6 separate regions of the Homo sapiens genome follow, and all the other regions are linked to region 4. Evidence: promoter capture Hi-C in 16 types of primary human blood cells and fetal thymus (Javierre and others, 2016). All regions are on one chromosome and are shown on one strand. The core of a region is centred on a gene start or on the middle of the fragment in contact, and the rest is flanking DNA. Distances in the headings are between cores, read along the strand shown.

Region 1 (3,401 bases), core at 580-3,079, 2.0 Mb before region 4:
GCCCCAGTACGATAATATTTTGGATTGATGCTTTTCTTGTAATCTAGTCTCAGGCTGGAAAATGTATCTAGTTTATCAAGCATCATAAGGTCAACATTGGAGAATAGGCAACTAGAAGTCAGACTTGGAATTCACTGGTTCAAATTTCTTACATAGTATAATTTATGTATGTAATAAACATTAGTAGTAATACATGCCATTATCTGCCTTTAACCAAAGTTCTAAAACAGTGGTTCTCCCTTGTTATTTTGCAACACTTTGGGAGTGTTATGAAATTATAATATTAAAATGTTCCTACTAATATATAAAACACCTATGATATTATTGTGCCTTTTGGTGGGTGGGAATGAGGGTTTTGGATGTGGTCAAACTTCACTAAAAGTGTTAATAACCATGTAAGAGTGTGGAGAATATTTTTATTTATTTTGCTTTTTACCTATCCTCTGTAATGCCAAGTGTGAATAACTATTTGATAAAAATTGAAGAGAAACACGAGACTGAGGTTAAACAGGCTGAGTGAGGAGGCGGATGCAAATAGTGAGAGGAATAGCCTGATTTTTCCAAGGACAAGGATTTAGGCTGATGGGATGTATTATTCGGGGGCTGGGTGAGGCAGGGAGAGGAGGCTGAAATATGAGGAGAGGCTAAAGAAGGCAGAAATCTTCATTTTAAGAATCAGTGCTGTCTGTAACAAAAGAACCATTCCAGTGTCTCAAGGCAGCAGCAGGATGCTGTCTGTTCCAACAACTCATGGTAATTGGAGAAGGACGTTTCCCAGGCAGCTAAAAGTAAAGAAACAGAAAGGATTCTGCCTTATGGAAAAGCTCACTAACACAGAGACAGCAGAACAGGTGCGGGGCTGGAGGGCTTTGAAGATGTTGCAGAAGCAGGAAGCAGAGAGCATTGAGTTGTAGCATCCAGGCCCTACTCCCAGATTTGCTAGGGATGGTTGGCACTGTTACAGGGCCCAGTTCAAGTGCCTGAGAAAATGACTTCAGTGTGTGAGACATGCCAAGGGTTATACTATTTCTACCTTCTAGAATAGGGTGTAGGAAACTGGATGGGAGGGAAGGGTTGCACTGAATCAGCCAGAGGGCTGAGCTTTGCACCATGACCCTTCCCACTATGGCAATGATGTGGCATCTCACTGGCCAGCACATTGGTAATTTGAGTATGTCTTTTGTTATGTTCTCTGTATTTAGAATTAAGGGAGTTCAGACACTGTAAAGAGAAGGTGTAATATGTTAAGGCTTTTAAAATGTGAATTTTTTGGCATATATGGTGGAGAAAGCAAATGCTTAGTTGTGTGACAGGGATCAGAGTCTCCTTAGAAACTAATTAACAAAGTGTCCAGTATATTAATTATTTAAATTCATAAAATCATGGACTTGTATTAGATGATCTTTCAGGTTTTTTTCCATACATAAAGTTTCACAGTACTTCACACACTACAGTTTCTTTCTATATAGTCTATGATGACCTCTTCATTTTACCCTCAGACACAAGCTTTTACGGTTGGCCTTTTGTGGTCTTTTTTGGTATTGATAGTTTAGATTGAATTTTTGGTTCCTGGCATTTGGCTTACTTACTGATTTTTTTCTCATCTTGTGTCTCAAGAGAGCTTTCTTAAAATAAAATTCAGTCTCTCTTTTGTTTTCAGCATGATTGCATCTAATTATGTAATTAGGCTAAATACATGCAATCAGGAGCAAGTAATAAATATTAGATTCTAACTCTGTAAATTTTGTTTTTCGTAGTAAATGCCTCAGGGGCAGAGCTTTTTTATTTATGCCTGCTAATACCTTCCACAGTGTTGTACATGTACCAAGAACTCAGTAGTTATTTGTTGAATTAATGAAGTATTTTTAAGATGCAATGCAAATCTCATCTAAAAATATGCAAATTCTCTCGAGACGCTAGAAATATTTTTCAAAGTTATTTAAAGCCATATTATGTTTGGACCATGTACTGGTTTAGGCTAAATTGATTTATCAAGCTGTATGTTTGGCACAGTGGTGGCTATGACTACATTAGTTGTCTTGGAAGAAAAATGATTTTTATAGGTCATAAGTTAGGTCAGTTAGTCATCATAGATTTACTGTGTTTCTGACACTGTTTCCTTAGATTTGATCTGGCTTTTCTCTTGTACATTTGAAGCTTATTTAGGAGTGTGTCAGAACAAGCTGTCTCACCTGCCTGAATTGTTAGCCTTTAGGGCAGGGACAATGTTGTTATGTTATGTTCAGAGCAGGGCACAGGAGAGAGTTGCCTGGATCATAAAGAATGGTGATGAGCTCAAGTTGGTGACCTGGTTCCTCTGTTCAGACACTATGGGCTGGAAAGGATGTGCCATATTTCTCAGGGGTTTTTCCTAATAACCCCTCTGCAGCTATCCTGCACCTTGTTACAAAGTCTTCTTTTACATTACTTTGTAAACATGTACCTGTAATGTAACTTCCATTTTTCAAGCATTCCAATGTTACAAGCACATAAAAATACACCTTGTTTTATTTGTGTTTTTATACTCAATACCTAGCAAAATTCCTGGCATACGGAGAAGTTTGAAATGCTTGTTGAGTCAAATAGAGCTGGTGCCTGTGGCAGTGGATAATCAGGCAGTCGAAAGCAGATTAAAATCTCAAATCTAGGTGGATAAGCTGTTGATGTGCTGCTGGATTTGGTTTGCCAGTATTTTATTGAGGATTTTCACATCTATGTTCATCAGGGATATTGGCCTGAAACTTTCTTTTTTTGTTGTGTCTCTACCAGGTTTTGGTATCAGGATGATACTGGCCTCATAAAATGAGCTAGGGAGGATTCCCTCTTTTTCTATTGTTTGGAATAGTTTCAGAAGGAATGGTACTAGTTCCCTTTGTACTTCTGGTAGAATTCGGCTGTGAATCTGTCTGGTCCTGGACTTTTTTAGGTTGGGAGGCTATTAATTACTGCCTCAATTTCAGAACTTGTTATTGGTCTATTCAGGGATTCGACTTATTCCTGGTTTAGTCTTTGGAGGGTGTATGTATCCAGGAATTTATCCATTTCTTCTAGATTTTCTAGTTTATTTGCATAGAGGGGTTTATAGTATTCTCTGATGATCATTTGTATTTCTGTGGGATCAGTGGTGATCTCCCTTTGTCATTTTTTATTGTGTCTATTTGATTCTTCTCTCTTTTTTCTTCTGTATTAGTCTGGCTAGCAGTCTATTTTGTTAATCTTTTCAGAACACCAGCTCCTGGATTAATTGATTTTTTTGAAGGGTTTTTCGTGTCTCTATCTCCTTCAGTTCTGCTCTGATCTTAGTTATTTGTTGTCTTCTGCTAGCTTTTGAATTCGTTTGCTTCCTTCTATAGTTCTTTTGTGATGTTAGGGTGTTGATTTTAGATCTTTCGCGCTTTCTC
Region 2 (3,473 bases), core at 730-3,229, 2.1 Mb before region 4:
AGAAGTTCATCCATACCTGGACCTCAAGCCTCAGCCTGATGTTGTAGGTCTTGAGGGAGTGCATGAGTGTATTTTGCTGCTGTGGCTAGAGGGTGGACTGTGGTATTTTGCATTTTCCAAAACTGACCTCAGCAATATTTGTGGTCCCACATGCTCTTCTAAACTTTGTCACTTCCCAACAAGAGTTAGAGTTTATTTCCCCTCCCCCTGAACCTGGGCTGTACTTTGCACTGTTGAATAGAATGTGGTGGGAGTGAAACTATGGGACTTCCAAGGTGAGGTCATAAAAGATAGTACTGCTTCTGCCTAGCTCACTCAAGAACCCAGCCCCCATAGTGTGAGGAGGCCTAGGACAGTTACAGAAGCCATGTGTAGGTGTTCTGGCTCCAGCAAAAGTCTTATCTGACAACATCAACTACATGTTAGTGGGTGAGTATTCGTATGATTTTAGTCCCCAGACTTTGAGACACCCTAGCTGATGCTGAGGGGAGCAGAGATGAAGTATCCCCCTGAGACCTGTCCACATATTGTTGTTTTGGGTTACTAAGTATTGGAGTAATTTTTAAATATAGCCATAGTAACTGAAATAATTAGGTTCATAGTTTTTAGGTTTATTTTTATGTTAACTTTTGGTAATAAAATTATGTTGGCTTTGTGAAATGAATTGGGAAACATTTCATCTTTTTATTTGGTATGAAATAATTTAAATAACACTATAAATACCCATTCTTTAAAAGTTAGGTAAAACTCAGATTTAAAGGTTTTTTTGGGTATAATGCTATTATTACTATTGTTATTTAAAATAATGGTTACCTTTCCATTTTTTTCTTTGCTAATTAGTCATTTTGGGTCTGCTTCTTGGTTCAATTTGGATTATTTGTATTCTCTAGGAAATTGTACATTTTTCTTTATTCCTAGTCTTGCTAATATTTTTTTCCCTCTTATATTTTTAAGCAGTACCATAAAGGGTTTATTTATATTTTTAGTTAAAAAAACTCTTGGAATTATTTATCAATTCTACTACTTTTTCCCCTTATATCACCAATTACAACTGTTCATTGATCAACTCATTCACTCTTCGCTTTTCTTAAAAAAGTTCAGGTAAACATGATAATGTTTCTGCAGTTTCATTCTTCTTCGTAATGAAAGGATTTAGGGGCATAAATTTTTATCTAACTGTGGCTATTGCTGGGTTCCATACATTTTTATGTAAAGTATTTACCTTTTCAGTAGCCTCTAGAGTATTTGTAATTTTTCTCTTTGATCAAAACTTAATTTTGAAGTCATTACGATGTTTCAAGCTGTTTAAAAATTATTTGTAATATTATTGTATTATGATCAATGACTATGGCCTGTTACATGTTTACTTTGAAATATTTGTTATGTTTTACTTTGTGGAAATTTCTATAAAACTATGAGCAAATATAATTCTTTCATTAAGGAAAATAAGATTCTATACATAGGTAGAAAACAAATCTTTTTTTTTTCTATATTTTACTTTAAATTCCAGGATACATATGCAGAACATGCAGGTTAGTTACATAGGTATACATGTGCCATGGTGGTTTGCTGCATCTGTCAATCCATCGTGTAGGTTTTAAGCCCTGCAAGCATTAGGTATTTGTCTTGATGCTGTCCCTCCCCTCACCCCCTACTCCACGGCAGGCACTGGTGTGTGTTGTTCCCCTCCCTGTGTCCATGTGTTCTCATTGTTCAACTCCCACTTATGAGTGAGAACATGCAGTGTTTAGTTTTCTATTCCTGTGTTAGTTTGCTGAGGATGATGGCTTCCATCTTTGTATGTCCCTGCAAAGAACATGATCTCCTTCTTTTTATGGCTGCATAATATTCCATGGTGTATATGTACCACATTTTCTTTATCCAGTCTATCATTGATGGGCATTTGGGTTGGTTCCATGTCTTTGCTATTGTAAGTAGTGCTGCAGTAAACATACGTGTGCATGTGTCTTTATATTAGAATGATTTATATTCCTTTGGGTATATGCCCAGTAATAGGATTGCTGGGTCAAATGGTATTTCTGGTTCTAGATCCCCGAGGAATCGCCACGCTGTCTTCCACAATGGTTGAACTAATATACATTTGCACCAACAGTGTAAAAGCATTCCTATTTCTCCACAGCCTTGCCAGCATCTATTGTTTCTTGGTTTTTTAATAATCACCATTCTGACTGGTGTGAGATGGTATCGCATTGTGGTTTTGATCTGCATTTCTCTAATGATAGTGATGTTGAGCTTTTTTTCATGTTTCTTGGCCACATAAATACTGTCTTTTGAGAAGTGCCTGTTCATATTCTTTGCCCACTTTTTGATAGGGTTATTTTTTTCTTGAAATTTAAGTTCGTTGTAAATTCTGGATATTAGACATTTCTCACATGGGTAGATTGCAGAAATTTTCTCCCATTCTGTAGGTTGCCTGTTCACTCTGATGGTAGTTTCTTTTGCTGTGCTAAAGCTCTTTAGCTTAATTAGATTCTATTTGTCAATTTTAGCTTTCGTTGCAATTGCTTTTGGTATTTTAGTCATGAAATCTTTGCCCATGCCTATGTCCTGAATGCTGTTGCCTAGGTTTTCGTCTAGAGTTTTTATGGTTTTGAGTTTTACATTTAAGTCTTTAATACATCTTGAGTTAATTTTTGTATAAGGTATAAGGAAGGGGTCCAATTCCAGTTTTCTGCATACGGCTAGCCAGTTTTCCCAACACCATTTATTAACTAGGGAATGCTTTCCCCATTGCTTGTTTTTGTCAGGTTTGTCAATCAGATGGTTGTAGATCTGTGGCATTATTCCTGAGTTCTCTGTTCTGTTCTATTGGTCTATATGTCTGTTTTGGTGCCAGAACCAGGCTGTTTTGGTTATTGTAGCCTTGTAGCATAGTTTAAAGTCAGGTAGCGTGATACCTCCAGCTTTGTTCTTTTTGCTTAGGATTGTCTTGGCTATATGGGCTCTTTTTTGGTTGCATATGAAACTTAAAGTAGTCTTTTCTAATTCTGTGAAGAATGTCAGTGGTAGTTTGATGGGAGTAGCACTGAATCTATAAATTACTTTGGGCAGTATGGTCATTTTCAGGATATTGTTTCTTTCTATCCATGAGGATAGAATGCTATTTCATTTGTTTGTGTCCTCTCTTATTTCCTTGAGCAGTGGTTTGTAGTTCTCCTTGAAGAGATTCTTCATGTTCCTTGTTAGCTGTATTCCTAGGTTTTTGTTTTTTTTTTTTTTGAGACAGAGTTTGCTCTGTCGCCCAGGCTGGAGTGCAGTGGCGTGATCTCGGCTCACTGCAACCTCTGCCTCCTGGGTTCAAGCGATTCTTCTACCTCAGCCTCCTGAGTAGCTGGGACTGCAGGCATGCACCACCACGCCCGACTAATTTTTTGTATTTTTAGTAGAGATGGGGTTTCATCTGTTAGCCAGGATGGTCTCGAACTCCTGACCTCGTGATCTGCCTGCCTTGG
Region 3 (3,592 bases), core at 304-2,803, 2.0 Mb before region 4:
CTGCTGCAGAGTTGTACAAGACTGCAACTGGAGCCAAGTCACCTGATGTGGTGGTTGCATGCAGGGAGACTAGAGCTTATGTAAGCATGCTTGTGAAGGTGACTTGAGCATTTTTTTCTTTTCTGTTTAAAATTGACACATAATAGACATACATATGATATTTTGATACATTAATATGTAACGATCAAATCAAGGTAATTGGTGTATTTATTACTTTAAACATTTACCTTTTCTTTATGCTGGGAATGTTCAAATTATTCTCTTCCAGCTATTTTGAAATATACACCACATTATTGTTTACTCTAGTCAACCTACTGATTTATTGAACACTAGGTCTTTTTTTAAAAATTGATAAATAATAGATGTCCATATTTTCAGGCTACTTGTGATAATTTGATACATTCATATAACTAAGTCAGGGTAATTGGAATATTCATCACCTTATATATTTATCTGTTCTTTATGCTAGAAACATGCAAATTATTCTCTTCTAGCTATTTTGAAATGCACAATAGATTAATGTTTGTAGCATCACGCTACTGATACATCAAACACCAGGTCTTATTTCTTGTTTCTAATGGCATATTTGTACCTGTCAATTAACCTCTATTCATCCCTTCCTCACTGACCCTTCCTGGCCTCTGATAACCACTAATCCACTCTATCTTCATGTGATCCAATTTTTAGCTCCCATATATGAATGACAATGTGCAATATTTGTCTTTCTGTGTTTGGCTTATTTCACTTAACATAATAACCTCTACTTCCATCCATGTTGCTGCAAATGACAGGATTTTATTATTTTTAATGGCTGAATGACATTCCATTGTATATATATAAAACCACATTTTCTTTATTCATCCATTGATAGGTACTTAGGTTGATTCCATATTTTGCCTATTGTGGATTAATGCTACAATAAACATGGGAGTGCAGATATTTTATTGATATATTGTTTCATTTCTTTTGGCTATATACCCAGTAGTGGAATTACTAGATCACGTGATAGTTCTGTTTTCAATTTTTTGAGGAACCTCCATACTGATTTCTATAGTCGCTGTACTTTGCATTCCTCAGCATGTACAAGGGTTTCCTTTTCTCCACATCCTTGCCAGTATCCATTATTGCCTGTTTTTTTTAATAAAAGCCACTCTAACTGGGGTCAAATGATATCTCACTGTGGTTTTGATTTGCTTTTCTCTGATGATTAGTGATATTGAACTTTTAAAAAAATACTTTTTGGCCATTTGAATGTCTTCTTATAAATATTTATTCAGCTCTTTCACCCAATTTTTAATTGGATTTCTTTTTTGCAATTGAGTTGTTTCAGCTCCTTATATTTTCTGGTTATTAATTCCTTGTCAGATGAATAGTTTGCTAATATTTTTTCTTATTCTGTGGGTTGTCTCCTTACTTTACGATTGTTTCCTTTGTGGTGCAGAAGCCTTTTAGCTTGATGTAATCCTATTTGTCTTCTTTGCTTTTGTTGCCTGTGCTTTTGAAGTTTTACACAAGAAAAATCTTTGCTCAGGCCAATGTCCTGCAGCATTTCCCCAACATTTTCTAATGTTTTCGTATTTTCAAGTCTTAGATTTAAGTCTTCAATCCATTTTGATTTTATTTTTGTATATAGTGAGAGATAAGTGACTAGGTTTATTCTCTATATGGATATCCAGTTTTCCCAGAAGCATTTATTAAAGAGGCTGTCCTTGCCCCACTGTATGTTCTGGGAGCCTTTGTTGAAAGTGAATTGGCTGTAAATGCATGGATTTATATCTGAGTACTCTATTTTGTTCCATTGGTCTATGTATTTTTAAGACAGTACCATGTTGATTTGGTTATCATAGCTTTGTAGTATATTTTGAAGACAGGTAGTGTGATGCCTCTAGCTTCATTTTTTTCCCTCAGGGTTTCTTTGGCTCTCTTTTTGGTTCCATATACATTTTAGTTTTTTTTGTTTGTTTGTTTCTTTGAAGAATGACATTGGGGTTTTGATAAGGATTGCATTGAATCTGTCAATTTCTTTGGGTAGAATGGTCATTTTAATAATATCGATTCTTTTAATCCATGAGCATGGACTATCTTTCCATTTTTTTGTCCTCTTTAATTTTTTTCATCATAGTTTTATAATTTTCTTTGTATAATCATTCACATCTTTGCTCAATTGATTCCTAGGTATTTAAAGCTCTTTGTAACTATTCTAAATGGGATGGCTTTCTTAATTTTTTTTTCAGATTGTTTGCTGTTGAAGTATACAATCCAAGGATCTTTGTTGATTTTGTGTCCTGCAACCTTACTGAATTCATTTATCAGCTCTAACATGGTTTTTGTTTGTTTGTTTAGTGAAGTCTTTAGGTTTTGCTAAATATAAGATGATGTTGTCTGCATGCAAGGCTAATATAACTTCCTCCTTTCCAATTTGAATGTTCTTCATTTTTTTTCCCTTGACTAATTACTCTCGTGAGGACTTCAGTATTATGCTGAATAAAAATGGTAAAGTGGGCGCTCTTGTCTTGTTCTTAGATGTTTTTTGAAGTCTTTCCTCTAAGACATTTTTTTCCTGTTCAGTATGATGTTGGCTGTGGGTTTGTCATATATGACCTTTATTATTTTGAGGTATGTTCATTCTATACCCAGTTTTTAAAAAATTATAAAAGGATGTTAAATTTCATTGAATGCTTTTTTGGCATCTATTCAAATGGCCATATGGTTTTTGTTCTTGATTCTGTTAATGTGACCTATCATTTGTGTATGTAGTGCCATCCTTGCATCTCTGGGATGAATCTTACTTCATTATGGTCAATGATGTTTTTAATATATTGTTGAATTTGGCTTGCAGTATTTTGTTGAAAATTTTGGCATCTATGCTGATCAGTGGTATTGGCCTGTAGTTTTCTTTATTTAATTGTATCCTTGTCTTGTTTTGGTATCAGGATAATGCTGGCCTTGTAGAATGAGTGTGAAAGTGTTTCCTTCTCTTCATTTTTTTGAAGAGTTTGAATATAATTGATATTCATTCTTCTTTAAATATTTGATAGATTTCAGCATTGAAGCTGCTGGGCTTAGCTTTTCTTTGAGGGGAGATTTTTTTATTATGGCATTACTTGTTAATGGTTTGTTGAGGTTTTCTACTTCCTCATGGTTCAATCTTGGTAGGTTGTATGTGTCCAGGAATTTATCTATTTCTTCTAGGTTTTCCAATTTTTTGGCATATAGTTGTTCATAATAGGCTTTAATGATTCTTTGTGGGTTTTTTTTGTATTCTCAATTGTTATGTCTTCTTTTTCATTTCTGATTTTATTTATTTGAGTTTTCTTTTTTCTTAGTCTAGCTAACAGTTTGTCAATTTTGTTTAATCTTTTAAAAACCAACCTTGCATTTCATTCATCTTCTGTATTTTTTTAGTATCAGTTTCATTTATTTCTGCTTTGATCTTTATTTTTTATTTTTTTCTACTAATTTTGAGTTCAGTTTGCTATTGCTTTTCTAGTTCCTTGGGTGCATCCTTAGATTATTTGAAGTTTTTCTACTTTTTTGATGTAGGTATTTATTGCAATAAACTTCCCTCTTAGATACTGCTTTTGCTGTAATC
Region 4 (3,606 bases), core at 418-2,917:
GATTCTCCTGGACTTCAGTGGTGTCCTCTGGTACATCTGTCCGCGGTGTCCCTTTGGTTTATTTCTGTGGTCTTCCTGCGCAGTCCCTCAGCGGCTCGGAGTTTGGCCTTCCAGCTCTCCAACTCAGATCCTGAGCCTCCTAAGCTCCCGCGGAGACCCTGAAGTCCCGGATCTGGCGCCGCTCGCCGACCTGGAGGGAGGCTGCACCGCTGAAGTGCAGTCTCGGAGCTGCGCTCCTCTGGAACAAAGCAGCCAGACGTGGCTTGAGTGGATTCCTAAGCCAAGGATTGGATCCGGAGTACCAGGGGCAGAGAGGGGGAGCAGAGGAAAGAAAGGAGATGTGAGGAGTTTCCACCTAAAGCACTTCACTCCTCGTGTTCTTCCCCGACAGAGATAGCTGTGTGGTTCTTCCTTACGCGTGGGTGCAGGTGTGCGCGCTTGGGGTGAGCCCATGGTTGTGCTCGAGTATACGGGCGCCTGTGCACCTCCAGGGCAATGGTAAAGCCTGGCAGAGCTCTTTTTGGAACAAAATGAAGGAGCTCCATATCCACGGAGGCCACCCGTATGGGCCTTTGCCAAGTAGGGCAGAAGAAGCCCTTGTTAGCCAGCTTCCCTTTGCAACTTCCTACTCTTCCTTTGGGTACAGACTGGTGTCTGGGCTAGCTAGGATCACAGCTGAGAGCGAAGGTGCTCTCAGTGTCCGAAGACCACGTGCTGGTGAACCCACAATGAGAAGCGAAAGGGTTTCAGGACTCTAGCAGAAAGGAAGAGCAAGATTTCACTCAGGGTTTCTTAGAAGAAAGAGTTAACTTTGCTCACTGGCTTTTCCAGGATGGAGGGAGTGGGGATAGGGTCGGGGAGAGAAGCATTGGGAGTCTTGTCGGAGTCTCAAGCAAAACCAGGCGAGGGCTCCGGGCAGATCCATTCCCGCAGGGCCCTGTCTAACCTCCTTTCCAGTCGCACCTCTTTCCTGCTTTAGACCCTGCGTCTGTGCCGGTGACCTTAGAGACTAGGTCTGGCTTATGAAGACTGTTGGGCTCCCTTTCTGCCCTTCACATAGTAAAATGTGACCAACTGCAGTATTCGTAATGTCTGATGCTGAGCTGAGTTGATTCCCAAATATAAATGTTCTTTTCAGAATCCGCTCCCATCTGATTAGTAAGCAAATCACCACCCACAACTAAGGGGACAGCGGAAGCCAGCCTCAGATGACTGAAACCCCCAAGTCAGTAGCTCTCCTCAAAATTTCCGGCGGGTTATTATAGATAATGACTTTTCCCACCGCCCTAAGCAGCCGAAGCTTGACTCAGTGATGATTCTCTCTATCCCGTAACTGCGAGGAAGTGGGCGATCAGCAAATTGCCCTTTTGCAGGAGGCTGGGGACGCCCCTGGAAGTTCGCTTTCATTCTCCAGGTTTTCTGCCTTTTCCCTTCCCCCTTCCTGCAACGCCCCCGCGCCTCCTCAGCCTGGGGATTTCCTGGCGCTTCGCCGGCCCTCTCCGCAACCCCCTGATAAATCGGTTCAGAACCAGTCTGGCTGGGAGGCCCGAGGGCTGACAGCAGCGGAGCGGCCCCGGCCGGGGTCTCACGGACTCTCGGGGTCTGGCCGACACGGCCGCTCCCGTCACTGCAGCGCGGGCTGAGCTCACGGCCGCGCGCCCGCCGCCGCCGCCGCCGCCGCCTTCATGCTGCAGCGCAGGGCTCAGTTCCACGCGGCCAGGAGGCCGCCGTTGCCCACACGCGACGCTTTGGGAAGCCCAGCTCCCGGGTCCGCCCCGGCCGCGGCCGCAGCCCCGGACCTCGGCTGCTTGCCTCGCGCCTGAACTGCGGACTCGCCCCAGCGCGGTGGCCAGCGGGCGGGGCGCTGTGTTCCGCGGCGCGCAGGGAGGCGGTGAGCGTGTGCAGAGCTGCCCGAACGGAGGACTATGTATGTGTGTGCGCGTGTTTGCGTGTGTTTGAGCGTGTTTTTCCTTCTTCCCTTGAGGATGTGAATTGTTTAGCAGCTGGCTGCTCCCTTAGGATCCTTGACTTTGGGGAGCTCTGGCTGTGAACACAGCCCACCCATATAATCCATTTTGCACGGTCCGTTATATCAGAAAAAAAAAGCGCAACTGGACGGGGGTGGGGCAGACCAACGAAACCTAGACAGACACACACACACTCAGAGGAGAGAGGAAGAATTGAAAGACTTGAGAAGACTTTGATAACCTCCCTGCTGGCCCTTCTGTGTTCCGGAAAGATCCTGGATGTTGGCTACCTTTTCAAGTCATCTTGGCATGTCTCTAGTGTTTTGTAAGCCGCTTTCCAGCTAGCTGCGTGTGTGTGTGCGCGCGCGTGTGTACGCGCGCGCCTATCTGATGCATTTGACTGTCTTTTATCCAACTGCCCAGAAGCAAATGTGTTAACTCGGCGATGCCCCTTCATGCCCGGGTTCTTGCAGAGCTCTGAGGACGCCCAGACCCATTTTCCTGGCTGGATTTGGAGCGGCTGCTGGGCTGTGGACCCAGGTGTGTGGATCGCTTTACCCAGAAGCTTGGAAAGCGCCAATATTAACCTGCTTCCAGGTACATCACAAGGTCAAGAGAGTGTCTTGCAGCCCTCTTGTTTCCGTGTATCTACACCTTCTTCTCTTGGCCAGAAGGATATTTACGTTTTGGTTCACAGCATTTGAAGCCAAAAGTTCAGCCCTTCGAACTGGTTTGCTATACAAAACAAAACAAAACAAATAAGGTAATGAGGATTGCTTATTAAACTGCTTAACAAAATCCCCGACTCTTCCTCAGCCCTTTCTCGGCTCCCTCCTCCCCACCAAAATGTCACCAGCTCTTGAATTACGTGGATTCGGGTTGGAGGAGAACTTGAAGGAAACGTGATTAAAGGGCTATGCGAGAACGCTCTCTTTGCTGCCCGCGGTCCGGTGGGCTTCGAAGCCAATCGTGAGAAGGACCGGTTCCCTCCGTGCTGCTTCCTCCCCGTGCAGTGCTGGGTGTGCGTGTGCGAGTGTGAGTGCAAGTGCGCGCGCGCCCGGGTGCGAGTGTGTGTGAGTGTGAGCGTGTGTCTGTGTGTGCGTGCGCGGCCGCCCTGCCTCTGCCCGCTCCCCGGGCGCGGAGCCGCGGGTTTCATGGGGCGATTGCAGCGATTCCCCCACCCAGAGCGACCTGCGGGCAGCGGCGGCAGTGGCAGGAGCCGCCTTTCCGATTCCCTACGATGCGGGTGCTGAGCTATGGCAAAGGGCAGCGAAGTGACGAGCGAGACCCGCGTACGACTGTGAAAGCCACCTGGAGCCACCTTGCCGGGATTGTACCTGCAGGCAGAAAGTCTTCCTACGACCGTCTTTTCCCTTAGAGGCACCAGGTAACAAACCAACGATTACTCGCCTCACCCAATTTCCTTTTGATCTTGTTTCTAGTGTCTTATCTGCATTGCAGGCTACTTTACTTATTAATGTTTTGAAAATCATTGGGAAGGGTTGGGTATCCAAGGGCGCCTGCTCTGTGATTTTGTAATACGATTTCTAGTAGGTGAAATATAAATCTATACCTAAGCACTTAATCTAGTAGTGAAAGCTTTGAGAATATGGATGTGCTCCACCCTGAGGATATTTTT
Region 5 (3,306 bases), core at 576-3,075, 2.1 Mb before region 4:
GTGGAACATTATGGTCATCTTTTCTTTTTTGGCTTTTGGAATTCATTCTTTCTAAATAACTATTTATTGAGTGTCTACTGTGAGTCATGCATTGTTATAGGTGTTGGAGATAGAGTGGTGAACAAAGATTCTCTGCCATTACAGAGTGTTCTCGTGAGAGTAGATGGAAAGTGTATTAGTCTGTTCTCACATTGCTATAAAGAATTATAATCATGGTGGAAGGGGAAGCAAGCACGTCCTTCTTCACAAGATGGCAGAAGAAAGAAGTGCCGAGCAAAGGGGGAAAAAGCCCCTTATAAAACCATCAGATTTTGTGAGAACTCACTCACTATCAGGAGAACATGAGGGTAACTGCTCCCATGATTCAGTTACCTCCTACCGGGACCCTCCCATGACATGTGGGGATTGTGGGAACTACAAGACGAGATTTGGGTGGGGACACAGCAAAACCACATCAGAAAATAAATTTATAATAGGTCGTAAGTACTACAGAGGAAAATAAAACAAGTTAAGGTGATGGGGGCAATTGCTCATTTAGGTAGGATGGTCAGGAAAGCCCTCTCTGATGAGATGATGTTTGAGCAGAAATCTGAAGGAGTAAAGAGAATAAAACATGTGGTTGTCTGGTTAGAAGACAAGTCTAGGCAGTGAGAACAGCAAGTGAAAAAGCCCTGAGGTTGAAACATACTTGTGTATTCATAGAATACTGAGAAGGCCATTGGGAATGGACCATTATAAGCAAAGAAATAGTAGTAGGAGTTGAGGTCAGAGAGTTAGCAAGTGGGACAAGATCATTTAGGGGCCTCTAGGCCATGGCAAGGGCATTTTTTTTTTTCTTTCCTGGGGATGATAGACATTGGAGGGTTTTGAGCAGGGAAATAAAACATTGTGACTTACAATGTAAAATGATAAGTCTTGTTGCTATTAAATTTCCAAACAAAACTATCAAGTAGGTAGTTAATATTGAAGTCTGAAGTTCAGGGGAGAAACCTGGGCTGGAGATAAAAAGTATGAATGTATAATTTGTTGTCAACATATAGATGATATTTAAATCCATCTCAAATGTTCTTAACTGACTCTCTTGCTTGGAAAAATTTAGGGTGTATTGTTCCAAAATTTTTTATATTTAAATCTTTAATCCACCTGGAATTTTGGAACATAGTTTGATATCACATTCCAGTATTTTTTTTCCATATAGATAACAAACACTATCAAATTAACCATTCTTTTCTCCATATGTATAACCAGCCTCATTTATTACGCTATTTTTTCCCAATGAATTTTTGTATATAAAACTCTCCTGTATACTGGTATCTATTTTTGTATTCGCTACTCTTTCCATGGTCTGTTTGCTCAATCCCAAACCACTTTTCCTATTGATTTGATTGCAGAGGCTTTATTATATGTGTCTGATTAGGTTTGTCCCTCTTTACCCTTCTTATATTTTATACTTTTTGGGAGTATTCTCAGGCATTTTTTCTTTCATATGAATTTTAACATAATTTTATTAAACGAACAAAATACTACATTTGATTTATATGAATTTTGAGAATTCATATAAATTTTGACATGAATTTTACAATTTATGTCTTTCCAGTGTTCCATGGCTAAATAACAATAACTGTTATAACATTATTAGGTTTTGTTTTCTTCATGTAGGTTAAGATTTTGTTTTCTTCATATAGGTTCTGTGTTTTCCTTGTTTACATTTATTACTACTGTACCCCTATTATAGTTTTAGCTGTTATTGTAAGAGGAAAAATTTTCACCTTTTCCTCTTTTGGTTACTGGTTCCAAGTACAAAAAAGTTCTTGATTTTTCTAAATTTAACTTTACTGTAGTCATCTTACCAAATTCTTATTATTAAATCAGGATGCTTTCATTGGTATATTTTCTAAATATATAATCATGTAATCATTAATTTCCTTTTCAGTGTCCATATAAATTACTTCATTTTTGGTCTAATTTCTCTTTATCATGCTTTTTTTGTTACCTTTGCCCCCTTTTTTCATATTTTTAAAACAATTTATTCTGCAAAAATTTCTTGAGCACGTTTTTGTGTGTCAAGTGCTTTATTGGTGCTAGAGATTCAATAATGAACAAAAAGGACAAAATCCCTGTGTGATGGAACTCTATTATTTGCTTCCTGACATTAATTGAAATGACTTAGTGTTTTATTGTTTAGTATATTTTCTGTAGGCTGTGGTGAATAGACTATCATATTTATATAGTTTTCTTTTAGGCCTATATTTCTTAAAGTTTTTATTAGGAATAACTGCTGAATTTTATTTGACTTGTTTTCATCAGCTGATAATATGATAATCTGGTTTGTCTTTTATTGCTTTTTATGGATTATTGATTTTAAAAATTGTTCTCTAATCAAGTATTATTCATTTAGTATTAAGGCAATATGTCTTACTTGATACTGTGTACTTAGCATGCTAGTTACTATCTTTAATTAACAAGTATCATGGATTGTGTTTTCCAAAAATGAACACAACCATAACTCCTATTCCACTGGGTTTTCTTACAGTATAACTTTGAACTTTTTATATTGAGAGGTAGCGTTTTTATACTGAGAGGTAGCGTCTCTGTTCTCTCTCCTTGAATCTGGGTGGGAGTGTGACTATAGCAGAAGTGGCACTATGTGATTTCCAAGACTATATCATAAATGATGATATAGCTTCTCTTCTTGGATACATGGTTTGTGGAACTTAGACACCATTATGTGAGCAAGTCCAAAGAGCCCATGGAGAGGCCATATGTAGGTATTAATACTGACAGTCCCAGCTGAGAGCCCAGCTTACAGCTACATCAACCACCAGTCATATGAATGAATGAACTTCTAGGTGATTTCAGCTCCCAGCTCTTGAGTCACTTTCAGCCTTCAAGTGTTCCCACCTGAGGCCCCAGACATTGTGAAACAGAGATAAGCCAACCTGCTGTACCCTTTCCGAATTCCTGACTCACATAATCTGTGAGACCCACAGTGAAATGGTGGTTGCTTTATGTTTTAAATTTGGGATGGTTTTTATATGGTAATGAGTAACTGAAACAAGAAAAGGACAATTTATATACAAAATTAATAATTTTCCCCTCATTTTTATATAACACACATTAACTGTATTATGCAATCATCTGTAACAATACTGCCAACTTCATGTGGTGCAAAGAGTATCTGGAGTCAGCTGAGCAAGATTCAGGTTACAGAACAACAGTAAAATATGTGTTTTATTTTGAGAAGTTCAAGTAATCTCTCCAAGTTTGCTTTTCTTTAAAATGGTGAGGAATATTATCAACATAACT
Region 6 (3,581 bases), core at 366-2,865, 2.2 Mb before region 4:
CTTCTTTTTTTTGAGAACAGGTCTCACTCTGTTGCCCTGGCTGGAGTGCATTGACAGGATCATGGCTCACTGCAGCCTCAACCTCCCAGCTCAAGCAATCCTCCTGCCTCAGCCTCCCAAGTAGCTAGGATTATAGGCAGGCACCACCACACCTGGTTAATTTTTAAATTTTTTGTAGAGATGGGGTCTTCAACTCCTGGCCTTAAGCAATCCTCCCACCTTAGCCTTTCATAGTGCAAGGATTACATGTATGGGCCACTAGGCCCAGCCGCTACCTGTGCTTTTTAACTGATTAACTTTAGACATCATCTGTTTACTCCCTTTTTGTAAAATATGAAGATGTATTTCAATTACATTACTCTCTTTCCCTCTTCCATATTCCTACCAATATTTGATAATCGTAATATTTTGTTTTTCTCTTGGTTTTTTTTTTGGAGATGGAGTCTTGCTCTATTGCCAAGGCTGGAGTATAGTGATGTGATCTTGGCTCACTGCAGCCTCCATCTTCTGGTTCAAGCAATTCTCCTGCCTCAGCCTCCTGAGTAGCTGGGACTCCAGGTGTGCATCACCACACCTGGCTAATTTTTGTATTTTTAGTGGAGATGGGTTTCACCATGTTGGTCAGGCTAGTTTTGGACTCCTGGCCTCAAGTAATCTTCCTGCCTCAGCCTTCCAAAGTGCTGGGTTTATAGGCATGAGCCACCGTGTCCAGCCTCTTGGTTGTTCTTACATTAATCAGCTTTTGCTACATAGCAGTCACAATCTTCTGTCTATAATTGGCTAGATTATAGTATGTTAGATAAATATTAGGCAAATATTCACTTTTTTCCCCTTTACCCACCTTTATGGAAAAAGCATACTTTCTCCCATGATTATTGATGTTGGATTTGGGTCTTACGATTTGTGTAAAGTTAATTTTTCCTGTCTTTCGTTTATAAGAAGGGCTCTAATTAATAAAGATGCTAGTTTCTATAAAAGGGAAACCTGAAGATCTTAATGTCAACAAAATAGCCGTGTATTTTTTCACTCCTTTAACTGTCCACTGAAGGTGTTCTTAGCAGGCGGCTTTCCTTCATGTGATGATTCAGTGACCCTAATTCCTTCTGTTTTATAGTTATACCATCCTTAAAATGCCCTGTGATTCTCTGTCTCTTGTAATGGAAGGGGAAGAGAGAATGGAGAAGGCACTTCTTAATTGCCGTAGCAAGGAAATGACAGATTACTTCCTACATTCATTGGCTAAAACTAGACACATGGTCTTGCCTAGACATAAAGGGTCTGAGAGATGAAGTTTTGCCACAAAGGAGGCCTATCCTTTTATTACTATTTTTGGCTGAAGGTAAATACTAGGGTCCTTGTATTTGCTGTGGACAGAGATGGAAGAAAACGGTGGATTTGTTTAGTATAGTTTTCTTGTATTCAGATCTTTAGTTAATCTCTATTCCTAGCTAACCTTCTCACTCTTTCCTTAATGTTCCTTAGAGATAGTTCCTCAGGTGCACTGAACCCAGAATCTCTAAGGTTTCAGTGCACAGGACAGCTTTTATCTCAATTGCAGCTTCCTCCTAGTGATGGTGGCGGCTCATCTGGAGCAGCTGCTGCGGTGAAGGCCGCTGCAGTAGGAGGGGGTGCACCTGGGGCTGTGCCCTCTGTGGAGCCCGTAGGGGGTGGGAACAGGTGATCCCAGTGGAAGCCTCACACTCTACCAAATTGGTGGGGCAGGAGCCTGCACTTCTAGGTGCAGCTGTAACCACCCAGCCATGGCTCCAGACCTGGGCATCCCTGTGCTCTCTGGGGCCCAGGGAGCCTCTTGCCCCCGCAAGTTCGGAAGTGCCTGCTCCCACTCTCCCTGGCCTCTCCCTGCTCTCAGTTTCCACTCTGGTGTGGAGCAAAGTTATAGCTTAGCCCAGGCACTGTCGTGACCCAGCCAGGTGTGTGCATGCCTGGGGCAACACTGACACACCAACTCCCACTGCCGCCTTGAGCACTGATGAGCTCAGAGGGAGCTGAAACTCTGAAACTTTGGGCACTGATGAACTCAAGAGGGAGACCGGGGGTGCTGAGGGCAGCTTGGTGTGGGCCTGTGGGCTCCCCTCAGCATGGACAGCCTGGGCACAAATGGCATGTTGATGGCAACAGGAGGCAGACAGATTCCTAGGTGGGAAGGGGCAGGTCCTTGGTGAAACCCCGTCTTGAAGCCAGGGATGGCCTGAAGCCTGGGGGCCAGGCTGCCAATTACGGGTGGAGTCCGCGGCCCAGAGTGAGAACTTACGGTGCTTTTTCCATGCCTGCCCATGGCTACCCATGGATCAATCAGCATGCACTTCCTCCCTTCTGAGCCCATAAAAACCCTAGACTCATGCAGACTCAGATACTCTTCAGGATGACCTGCCAGTGGAAAGGAGCTACCCACTACACGTCTTCTCTCTACTGAGAGCTGTTCTGTTGCTCAATAAATCTCTGCCTTGTTCACCTTCCAGTTGTCCATGTTACCTCATTCTTCATGGACATGGGACAAGAACTAGGATATCACTGAATGGTAGGTGTGAAAGGAGCTGTAATGCTTTCCTGGCCCGCTTGCCAAGCTGCAGGCAGTGACACGCTCCTGGACTATGAGAGTGAAGAGTGGTAACCCTTCTGGGGACCCAGACCTTGGGATTTCCTGAGGTAGAGCTGCTGTAACACTGTAGCACTTCCACCCTTTGTTGGCGCCGGGTGGCCGCCCCATGCAGTGGGAAGCAGCAGTGGGGCTGGGCCAGCCACGGGCTGCAGTTGTGGTGGTGGGACTGAAAGAGCTATAACACAAATGGGCTTAAACACTCCCCACTGAAACTTGCTGCCATCCCCTGCTCTCTGCACTGCAGGCAATGAGAAGGAGAGAAGAGCTGTAGCCCTTCTGGAAGCCCAGACCTTGGGGCTTCCTAAGCCAGAGCTGTGACATGCTATAACACCCTCTTTGGATGCTCTGTGGTTCCTGGCATCTCCGGGCTTTTGGGCGCCACCTTGTTCCCCTCATCGAGACACTGGTCTTTGCAGCAGAAGCTGCTTGCAGTACATCTGGTCCAGCCAGAGCCTCACATGGAGCCAGTGCCTGTGCTGGTGCTTGGTGCTGCCCGCTCCGCAGCAGCAGCTGGTATGCCTGGCTGTGCGCAGTGGCCGGATTCCACACTGACTTGCTCATGCATCCCTTGTCACTGAGTGCTTGGCTCACCCTTAGTAGCCGTGGGATCCGGGCCAATAGTGAGAGCGAAGCGCAGCATGCTGGGTCGAGTGGGTGGAATAGTCCAGTGGGTGTGAGCGAACTCAAGCAGAGGCATCGCCAGCCACAGAAGTTTCCGTTTGGCAGAGCGACACCCAAAGGAGCATGGGTCACTAGTATGTTATGTTCTGCTTCAGTTGTCAATACACTCCTGTCCACTTTTTGCCTTTGAGGAAATATTTGGAATCTCTTAGTGGCAATGGTCATCTCTTTCCTAGCTGAGTTCTCTTCTTATTATACAGAGTCAAGTATCTATACATTGTTTTTAAATTTTAAGTTTCGGGAGTCAGAGGAAGTAAATCTAGAATATCTTCAATTAGTA

What was found. The method cuts DNA at HindIII sites, captures the fragments that hold promoters and counts their contacts. A CHiCAGO score of 5 or more calls a contact.
Region 1: a fragment that was not itself captured here is called in contact with the fragment with the promoter of LRFN5 in region 4 in 1 of 17 cell types (naive CD8 T cells); the score reaches 6.2 in naive CD8 T cells.
Region 2: a fragment that was not itself captured here is called in contact with the fragment with the promoter of LRFN5 in region 4 in 3 of 17 cell types (M1 macrophages, M0 macrophages and M2 macrophages); the score reaches 8.0 in M1 macrophages.
Region 3: a fragment that was not itself captured here is called in contact with the fragment with the promoter of LRFN5 in region 4 in 1 of 17 cell types (naive CD8 T cells); the score reaches 10.1 in naive CD8 T cells.
Region 5: a fragment that was not itself captured here is called in contact with the fragment with the promoter of LRFN5 in region 4 in 1 of 17 cell types (M2 macrophages); the score reaches 6.6 in M2 macrophages.
Region 6: a fragment that was not itself captured here is called in contact with the fragment with the promoter of LRFN5 in region 4 in 1 of 17 cell types (M2 macrophages); the score reaches 6.4 in M2 macrophages.

What each region holds. Positions count from the first base shown.
Region 1 is chr14:39,591,495-39,594,895 of GRCh38, forward strand. All of the region lies in intron 2 of LOC105370461 (a long non-coding RNA gene), which reads left to right. Among named protein-coding and RNA genes, the nearest start is that of FBXO33, 160 kb to the left of the region's middle. The HindIII fragment of the contact is 651 bases long and covers 1,505-2,155 here.
Region 2 is chr14:39,474,527-39,477,999 of GRCh38, forward strand. All of the region lies in intron 2 of LOC105370461 (a long non-coding RNA gene), which reads left to right. It overlaps LOC105370460 (a long non-coding RNA gene), which reads left to right and starts at 314. Exons shown (of 3, transcript XR_001750731.2): 1 at 314-429. The HindIII fragment of the contact is 4,354 bases long and covers 1-3,473 here.
Region 3 is chr14:39,570,339-39,573,930 of GRCh38, forward strand. The region is part of intron 2 of LOC105370461 (a long non-coding RNA gene); the gene reads left to right. Among named protein-coding and RNA genes, the nearest start is that of FBXO33, 140 kb to the left of the region's middle. The HindIII fragment of the contact is 7,780 bases long and covers 1-3,592 here.
Region 4 is chr14:41,605,209-41,608,814 of GRCh38, forward strand. It overlaps LRFN5 (leucine rich repeat and fibronectin type III domain containing 5), which reads left to right and starts at 1,668. Exons shown (of 6, transcript NM_152447.5): 1 at 1,668-3,354. The HindIII fragment of the contact is 1,232 bases long and covers 1,299-2,530 here.
Region 5 is chr14:39,457,116-39,460,421 of GRCh38, forward strand. The region is part of intron 1 of LOC105370461 (a long non-coding RNA gene); the gene reads left to right. Among named protein-coding and RNA genes, the nearest start is that of FBXO33, 26 kb to the left of the region's middle. The HindIII fragment of the contact is 9,042 bases long and covers 1-3,306 here.
Region 6 is chr14:39,439,281-39,442,861 of GRCh38, forward strand. All of the region lies in intron 1 of LOC105370461 (a long non-coding RNA gene), which reads left to right. Among named protein-coding and RNA genes, the nearest start is that of FBXO33, 8.6 kb to the left of the region's middle. The HindIII fragment of the contact is 8,991 bases long and covers 1-3,581 here.